2 separate regions of the Homo sapiens genome follow, and region 2 is linked to region 1. Evidence: promoter capture Hi-C in human tissues and cell types (Jung and others, 2019). All regions are on one chromosome and are shown on one strand. The core of a region is centred on a gene start or on the middle of the fragment in contact, and the rest is flanking DNA. Distances in the headings are between cores, read along the strand shown.

Region 1 (4,168 bases), core at 816-3,315:
CTTTGGCAGAAGGGGAAACCAAGTCACAGAGAACCTGCCTTTTTCCTTGCACTGCCCCTCTGTGTGGTCCTAGGGACAGGATTTTATTATTTATTTATTTATTTATTTTTCGAGGCACAATCTCACTCTGTCACTCAGGCTGGAGTGCAGTGGTGCAATCTTGGCTCACTGCAACCTCCACCTCCCGGGTTCAAGCGATTCTTGTGCCTCAGCCTCCCAAGTAGCTGGGATTACAGGCGCCCACCACCACACCCAGCTAATTTTTATATTTTTAGTAGAGATGGGGTTTCGCCATGTTAGCTAGGCTGGTCTCGAACTCCTGATCTCAGGTGATCTGCCTGCCTCAGTCTCCCAAAGTGTTCGGATTCTTGTGAGCCACTGCGCCCGGCCTGGGACAGAATTGTAGTCCAGATGTCATGTGCTGGCCATCACCAGGAGGTTACGTTTTGCATCTCTTCTGAGCTCACCAGCTCGGCGTGGGTATGTCGGAGCAGGACGTAGTCATGCTTGGCCAAGGGGGTGCTTAGTCCTGCCTCAGTGCCACGCACCACCCCACATTCGGCAGTTCAGGACCTGGCCAGGCTCACTGAGGTTCTCACAGCCGTTTCAGGCAGGGTTGGCTTCTGCTTGTCTTTGCATTCTGTGAACTCTCACTTTCTGCTGCTGTTACCTCCTCTGACTTTTGCACTGAGGCCTGCCGCCTCAACTCCCTCTTGGTGAGTGTTTCTTAGGCTCAGCTCACACCTTCTCCTGCTCACCAAGACCTCACCCTGGGCCTGCCTGGTGTCAGCTGCCCCCGTGCCAATCCTCCCCACCCCAGCCGCACTCCTGCTTCCACAGCCTCCTCTGGCCTGCACCCTGCACGTGCCCTGGAGCCGCCCATTGTTCTTTCTCTGAATGAGTATCTGTGCCCTACGATTTAGTTGTGTGCTCCTCATTCTCTAATTGCATCCTCTAAATGGCCATCTTCTCTCCCGTAGAGGACTGTGGGCTCCTTGCAGGAAGATGCTGTCGATATGATGGGAACAAGAACAGTTCTGACATGTGACTGGCACTTCTGATGTGCCAGGCCCAGGGCTGGGCGATTTACCTAATTATTTCATTCCATGATGACAATAAACCTGTGTGATCCCACTTGACAGATGAAGAGAGGTTGAGTGGCTTGTCCAAGGTCCCCCAGCTGGGTAGCAGTAGAGCAGGGATTCTCAGCACATCCATCTGACTGTGAGCCTGTGCTTTTCACCACTGCGCAACCCTCTGTCCCTGCTTGCTGCTGGACTCACATTTCCTTGGATGTTCTTCCCGATGGCCTCCACGGAGTCTGCTTCTTGATGGCAGAACAGCCTCCTGCTGCCGTGAGAGCAGAATTACATTCTCTCCCCAAGATGCCCAGGGCCGGCTTCCTTTGTGCTCAGAGAGTGGGGTGGGCTGAGGACACTCAGAGCTTGGTGTGTTCTCCCACCCCCATTTTCTTACCCCTGTGCACCCTGCACTGTGCCACAGCCTCTCTCCCAGCCCCTTTTCCTGTGGACCCCCAAGCTGCCAGAGGGTTCTTGCCAGACCCACAGGGATCCCTGAGCTGCAGGTCTGCCATCTCTCTCTAGAGTTGGTAAGAAAATGGAACCACAGTTCACCAAAAGGCCCCAAGGAGAGGCTCCGGACTGAAGACAGCCACCCCAGCTTCACACCCCCCATCTGGACCTTTCCCCTCTACAGCCTCCCTCCCCTTCCCCCAATCAGAGTCTTTGCTTTGGGGCCCAAGCCCTTGGCTAAGCTCCACCCCTCTCCCAGCATCCTAAAGTTTGGGGGCTGCATTCAAGTCAGAGATTTCCAAGTAGGGGGTGTGTTGGAGGGACTTCTGAGGGCAGCTTGTCCTGGAAGAATGGGGGAAAGGCGGCGTGTGTTGCTGTCCCTGAGGACATCTGTGTAGCTCCCTGGGAGACCCTCTGCCCTTTCCCCCTCCCACCAGCCCGGCGAGCAGGGACCAAGCCTGCTTATTATCACCTGACGCTGCGCAGCCGCTGATCCCATTGGTGGAGGCAGATTCGGTCTGGCTCTCTCGTTCTTTCTCCCTTCTCTGCCTCTCTCTCCTCCACGCTGCTTTGATTTCGCTCTTGCCTCTCTTCTTGCGCTGCTCAGCTGGGAACATCGTCTCACCAGGGGCAGCAGCGACGCGCTGCACAGCCAGACAGGAGCTGGCTGCGGGGCATGGAAGCAGCCTCCTTGGCAGCCGGGAGAGGAGCAAGCGCACGCCACTGCCCGTGACCCAGGCGTCCGGCTGCTGTCCCCTGCCGGGGAGCTCATCCACGCAGAGGTCTCTCCCTGTCCTCCCTGCGAGCTTTTCCTCTGCAGAGCCCAGTGGAGCCAGGTGAGTACCCTTCCTCCCTGGAACCTGCTGCTGTTGATCCTGAGTAGCCGGGATCTGGGGGCTCTAGGGTCCTGCCACCACCCAGGGTGCCCACCTGGACTGCCAGGCCTGACGACCTTGTCCCCTCTCCCCCCCCCCGGCCAGGCCTTTGGCAAAGTGGTTAATGGCTGAATCCAGTCTCTGGGGCACCACAGTTAGTCACCCCGTGACCGTTCTGCTGCAGTCAGCGATGCCAACAGGGACAGCAGGGTGGGGGAAGCATTCCCTGTGGCAGGGTGGCTGTTTGAATGGGCATGGGGAAGGGGCACCGGTGTGCGCGGCGTGTGTGTGTGCGCGCTCGCGAGTTGGCTGGAGGCTTGCTGGCGCAGATAGGTCCGTCTGTCCGCAGTCATGCTCATGTGTGGGTTTTGAATGGTGTGAGGCATGTCTAGAAACATATCTTTCTGGCACACGTGAGGTACATGTGTGTGGGGGACTTATTTGAGTAGCCTGTGGGTGTGCGTGGGTGGGGACACTATGAGGCAGTATATTTAGGGGTAACCATGTCCCTTTTCATGTGTGTGGGAGTGTATGCAGACAGGGGCTTTCTATATGGGGAGGTGAGACCCAGAGCAGGATGGAGTGGGTAAAGAGAAGAAGGGGCAGAAACCATTGTCTGTGGGCAGAGCCACGTAGGTGCACAAACCTGTTGGCATGAAGGCTCAGGGCTGGCAGAGTGTGGCCAGAGGCAAACACATTTTCAAAGTCTGTCTTTGAGCCTGGAGATGATTCGAGAGAGAATACCAGACTTCGGGCGGGGGCTGCTGTGTGTATGAACACACATGTGTGTGCCGGCAGGCGTGTGGGTTGCGTGCCTTCTTGTGGAGGTGGCACACATGCATGTTGGTGCCTGTGGCATCCTCTTTTCCCCACATATGGCTTGTGAGGCGGTGTGCGTGGACGTGTGTGTGCGTGAGCCTGTGGACATGAACATGTCTGGGTGTGCATGGAGGTGACAGATTGAAGAGGGAAAACTGTGGGGCATTCTTAGAATGTGGAAGGTGGCAGCAGGCACCTGAATGTGGAGATGGGTGTGTGGGAGTGAGGACATCTGCGGAGGTGTGGGACGCGGGTGGGTGGGCACTCTTGGCGCATGTGTGTATGCGCGTGCGTGCCTGCCTGTGTGTGGGTGTGTACATGCCTGTCTTGGGGTGGATCCACACAGGAGTGTGGGTGTTTCTCGGGTGTTGCCTCAACCTGTCCCTCACACCCTGCCCTTCCCCAGTCTTCTGGGTGTAGAGAACTTGGGTTCACACCCACCCCTCTGTCCACCCCAGCTCACTCACTGCCACCCTCCCAAGCTAGCGGGGGGATGTCATCTCAGCTTTCCCAGAACCGTAGGGAGGGAGGGACAAGCAGACACCCAGGTCCTGGAGACCCCTACCGCCAAACACAGCTGCCCCTATTTCTAGGAGGACTCCAAGGAGAGGCAGGAATAGGTGCCTACTCATGGGACGAGTGTGGGCTGCCTCCGAGCGTGTGGGTGGGTGCCGCTCAGGGCCTCTTGGGTAGGAGTGTGTCTGTGTTCGTGTGTGTGTGTGCGTGTGTGTGTGTGAGGGGCACATGTGTGTCTCCCTGGGAGCTTCTCACCAGGTTCCCAAGAGATGGTAACTCCCCACTGCTCCACACCTGTCCCCATGAATTACAAACTGGTTTATTATGGTAGGGTTGTTTCCAGACACTCAATCCCATCTGCCTGATTTTGGGGTGGGCCTGGTAGCACCGCCATGCTTATTTACCATAGGATTCCCCATGCACAAA
Region 2 (4,298 bases), core at 1,382-3,881, 230 kb before region 1:
CAGCCTGACCAACATGGTGAAACCCTATCTCTACTAAAAATAAAAAATTAGCCGGGTGTGGTGGCGCGTGCTTGCCTCAGGAGGCTGAAGCAGGAGAATCACTTGAACCCAGGAAGTGGAGGTTGCAGTGAGCTGAGATCGCACCACTGAAACTCCAACCTGGGCGACAGAGCAATGCTCTGTCTCAAAACAAACAAACAAACAAAAAACACATCTTGAATAGACTAAGCGAACATCTAACTAAAATACACATAAAAATAAGACAGAACAAAATGAAAACTCTCACCATAAAAACTATGATCGAAAAGTATCCTCAATTAATTCATTCAAATAATTTTATTGAATTGCTACTATGTGTTAGGTACTTATACGCACTAGTAAAAATTTTGATGGCAAATATCTCAATGCATAAGTACATAAATAAATACCTTAAAATACCATAAATTTTTTTTTATTTTCTCCTAGGTAGATATAATTTACTTAGATCATAATTTATTAACATTTAGCCAATCTGCAATTTTTAGAAATCTCAGTTATTGTTAAATATTTTGCCCTTACAATGTCTGTAGCACATTTTATTTTCCAAAACTGGCTGCAACCAGCCAGGCATGGTGACTCACTCCTGTAATCCCAGCACTTTGGGAATCCAAGTTGGGGAGACTGCTTGAAGCCAAGAGTTCGAAACCAGCCTGGGCAGCATGGTGAGACCCCCATCTCTACAAAATTTTTTTTTTAAATTATCCAGGTGTGGTGGCATCTGCCTGTACTCCCAGCTACTCAGGAGGCTGACACAGAAGGATCTCTGGAACCCAATAGGTTGAGGCTGCAGTCAGCTACAGTCGTCAGCCTGGACAACAGAGTGAGACTCCATCTCAAAAAGCAAAAACAGAAAAAATTTTTGCAATCTACCCATCTGACAAAGGGCTAATATCCAGAATCTACAAAGAACTTAAACAAATTTACAAGAAAAAAACAACCCCATCAGAAAGTGGGCAAAGGATATGAACAGACACTTCTCAAAAGAAGACATTTATGCAGCCAACAGACATATGCAAAAATGCTCATCATCACTGGTCATCAGAGAAATGCAAATCAAAACCACAATAAGATACCATCTCACACCAGTTAGAATGGTGATCATTAAAAAGTCAGGAAACAACAGATGCTGGAGAGGATGTGGAGAAATACACCGTTGGTGGGTGTGTAAATCAGTTCAACCACTGTGGAAGACAGTGTGGTGATTCCTCAAGGATCTAGAACTAGAAATACCATTTGACCCAGCAATCCCATTACTAGGCATATACTCAAAGGATTATAAATCATTCTACTATAAAGACACATGTGCACGTATGTTTATTGCAGCACTGCTCACAATAGCAAAGACTTGGAACCAACCCAAATGTCCATCAATGATAGACTGGATAAAGAAAACGTGGCACATATAGACCATGGAATACTATGCAGCCATAAAAAGGATGAGTTCATGTCCTTTGCAGGGACATGGATGAAGCTGGAAACCATCATTCTCAGCAAACTATCACAAGGACAGAAAACCAAACACCACATGTTCTCACTCTTGGGTGGGAATTGAACAATGAGATCACATGGACACAGGGTGGGGAACATCACACACTGGGGCTGGTCGGAGGATGGGGGGCTGGGGGAGGGAGAGCATTAGGAGAAATACCTAATGTAAATGATGAGTTGGTGGGTGCAGCAAACCAACATGGCACATGTATACCTATGTAGCAAACCTGCATGTTGAGCACATGTACCCTAGAACTTAAAGAATAATTTTTTAAAAAAAGCAAAAACTAAAAAAAAATGGCTACAATAATATTTCTCACTCTACATACTCTTCTGTAATCTCACTGTCTTGGTCTGTTTTGTGTTGCTATGACAAAATATTATAGACTGGATAATTTATAATGAATAGAAATTTACTCATTCATAGTTCTGGAGGCTAAGAAGTTCAAGATTGAGGGGCCAGGCATCTGGCATGGGTCTTCTTGCTGCATCATCCCATAGTGGAAGGGCAAAGAGGGATAAGAGAGAGCAAGAGATAGAACTTGCAGCCTTAAGCCCTTTTATAATCAACATTAATGCATTCATTAGAGGTGGCTTCATGACCTAAACACCTCTCATTAGGCCCCACCTCCCGACACTACTGCATTTGGGATAAATTTTCTAATACATACTTATTTTATTTTTAAATTTCAGATTCAAGGGGTATATGTGTACCTTTTTTACATGGATATACTGCATAATGGTAAAGTTTGGGCTTCTAGTATACCCATCACCCAGGCAGCCAACATATGCTTTCTGGGGATCATATTTAAAGCATAGCAGTGACCTGACCCTATCCTATCAAGAAGTAGAGTCTAAGGCCAGGCCCAGTGGCTCATGCCTGTAATCCTAGCACTTTGGCAGGCTGAGCCAGGCAGAATGCTTGAGCTCAGGAGTTTGAGTCCAGCCTGGGCAACATGGTGAAACCCCGTCTCTACTAAAAACACAACAAAAATTAGCCGAATGTGGTGTCACAAGCCTGGAGTCCCAGCTACTTGGGCGGCTGAGGTGGGAGGATCACTTGAGCCCAGGAAGTCGAGGCTGCAGTGAGCCAAGATAGCACCACTGCATTCCAGCCTAGGTGACAAAAAAAAAAAAAAAAAGGGAGAGTCTAATGTCTCTCCCGTAGAATCTGAACTGGCCTTAGTGACCTGCTTTAACAAATACATTGCAGCAGAAGTGATTTTGCAGATTCTGCCTCGGTCTCTTGGCATACTCATTCTCCAGTAAAGTGGGTATATGGTCAATAATCCCAGCTGAGGCAAGCTTTGAGTGAACTCAGCCCACGCATAACTCACTTCATTCAAACTTAAGTAAAGACTACAACTATCTACGTCTATGTGCTAAACACTGAAAAGGCTCTTGGAATCATCAGTCAAAAAGCAAAAAGTAGTCCAGGTATGATGACTCACACCTATAAAAAGAATCTCATCACTCTGGGAGGCTGAGGTGGGTGGATTGCTTGAGCTCAGGAGTTCGAGACCAGCCTGCGCAACATGGCGAAACTCTGTCTCTACCAAAAAAACACAAAAATTAGTTGAGTGTGGTGGTGCACACCTATAGTCCCAGCTGCTCAGGAGGCTGAGGCAGGAAAATCACTTGAGCCCAGGAGATTGAGGCTGCAGTGAGCTATGATCCAGCCACTGCACTCCAGCCTAGACAGCTGAGCGAGACCCTGTCTCTAAAAAATAAGTAAATAATAAGAAATTGTTAAGATGTCTTTTACACCTACTACATCTTTGGGTTTATAATAAATGGCCACTAGGTAAAACAAAGCTTTAGTCCTTTACTTTATTAAAAATTTTTTAAAGGATTATAAAAATTATTAGCTTTGTTTGGCATACTCTGAATTTTAATTAACTTAAAACTTTTGTGAGAACTCTTTGCTTTATTAAATTTGGGTTAAAGGGAAAAAAAAACCTCACAAATCATAAGGAAAGTTAAGCCTTCCCAATTTAATCATGTATAATAAAATGTGGTTAAAATAAATATACTTCAACATTTAAGTATCTTTCGGCTTAAAGAAAATATTAGGAGGCCGAGGTAGGCAGATCACCTGAGGTCAGGAGTTCGAGACCAGCCTGACCAACATGGTGAAACCCCATCTCTCTTAAAAATACAAAAAATTAGCGGGGTTTGGTGGTGGACACCTGTAATCCCAGCTACTTGGAAGGCTGAGGCAGGAGAATTGCTTGAATCCAGGAGGCGGAGGTTGCAGTGAGCCGAGATCATGCCATTGCACTCCAGCCTGGGAAACAAGAGAGAAACTTCGTCTCAAAAAAAAAAAAAAGAAAACATACATTCGAGTACAAAGACTGCCACAATAGCTATCTAAAAAAGGATTTTATTTCTAGGTTTCAGTAAACTTGGAATGGTGAAACTCATAATACACTTTATAGGATAAATGAAAGAAAGTCCTAGAGACTGTCAATGTCCTCCCTGTTTGTGAGATATTCTTACTTCTAGGATAATCAGTGACTACTCATAAAATTCATTATGTACTTTCTGCAATAGAAGATTCCACTCCCTTCCATTCTGATAATGCTGGTTAATATAATAAATCAACTAAAGCCTATAGTCCCATGATCCACAGGTGGTTTCCGCTTCTTCCTTACATTCATCTAAAGTTCCTGGCTATAAGCTAAAGATAGGAATTGAGCCTTGTGGAAGACTTATCAAAAGAACTTTTGTAAATGTTTGTATCATGCACCCATTACTGACACTACAGAGAA

What was found. Contacts are between HindIII fragments. The study calls those that stand out against the background at their distance.
Region 2: a contact is called between a fragment that was not itself captured here and the fragment with the promoter of PHYHIP in region 1, in 3 of the 25 tissues and cell types used here (H1 embryonic stem cells, adrenal gland and liver).

Annotation. Positions count from the first base shown.
Region 1 is chr8:22,229,996-22,234,163 of GRCh38, reverse strand. It overlaps PHYHIP (phytanoyl-CoA 2-hydroxylase interacting protein), which reads left to right and starts at 2,065. Exons shown (of 5, transcript NM_014759.5): 1 at 2,065-2,368. RefSeq lists enhancers at 1,688-2,435, 3,361-3,530. The HindIII fragment of the contact is 22,356 bases long and covers 1-4,168 here.
Region 2 is chr8:22,463,348-22,467,645 of GRCh38, reverse strand. The region is part of intron 1 of PPP3CC (protein phosphatase 3 catalytic subunit gamma); the gene reads right to left. Among named protein-coding and RNA genes, the nearest start is that of PPP3CC, 24 kb to the right of the region's middle. The HindIII fragment of the contact is 3,217 bases long and covers 1,023-4,239 here.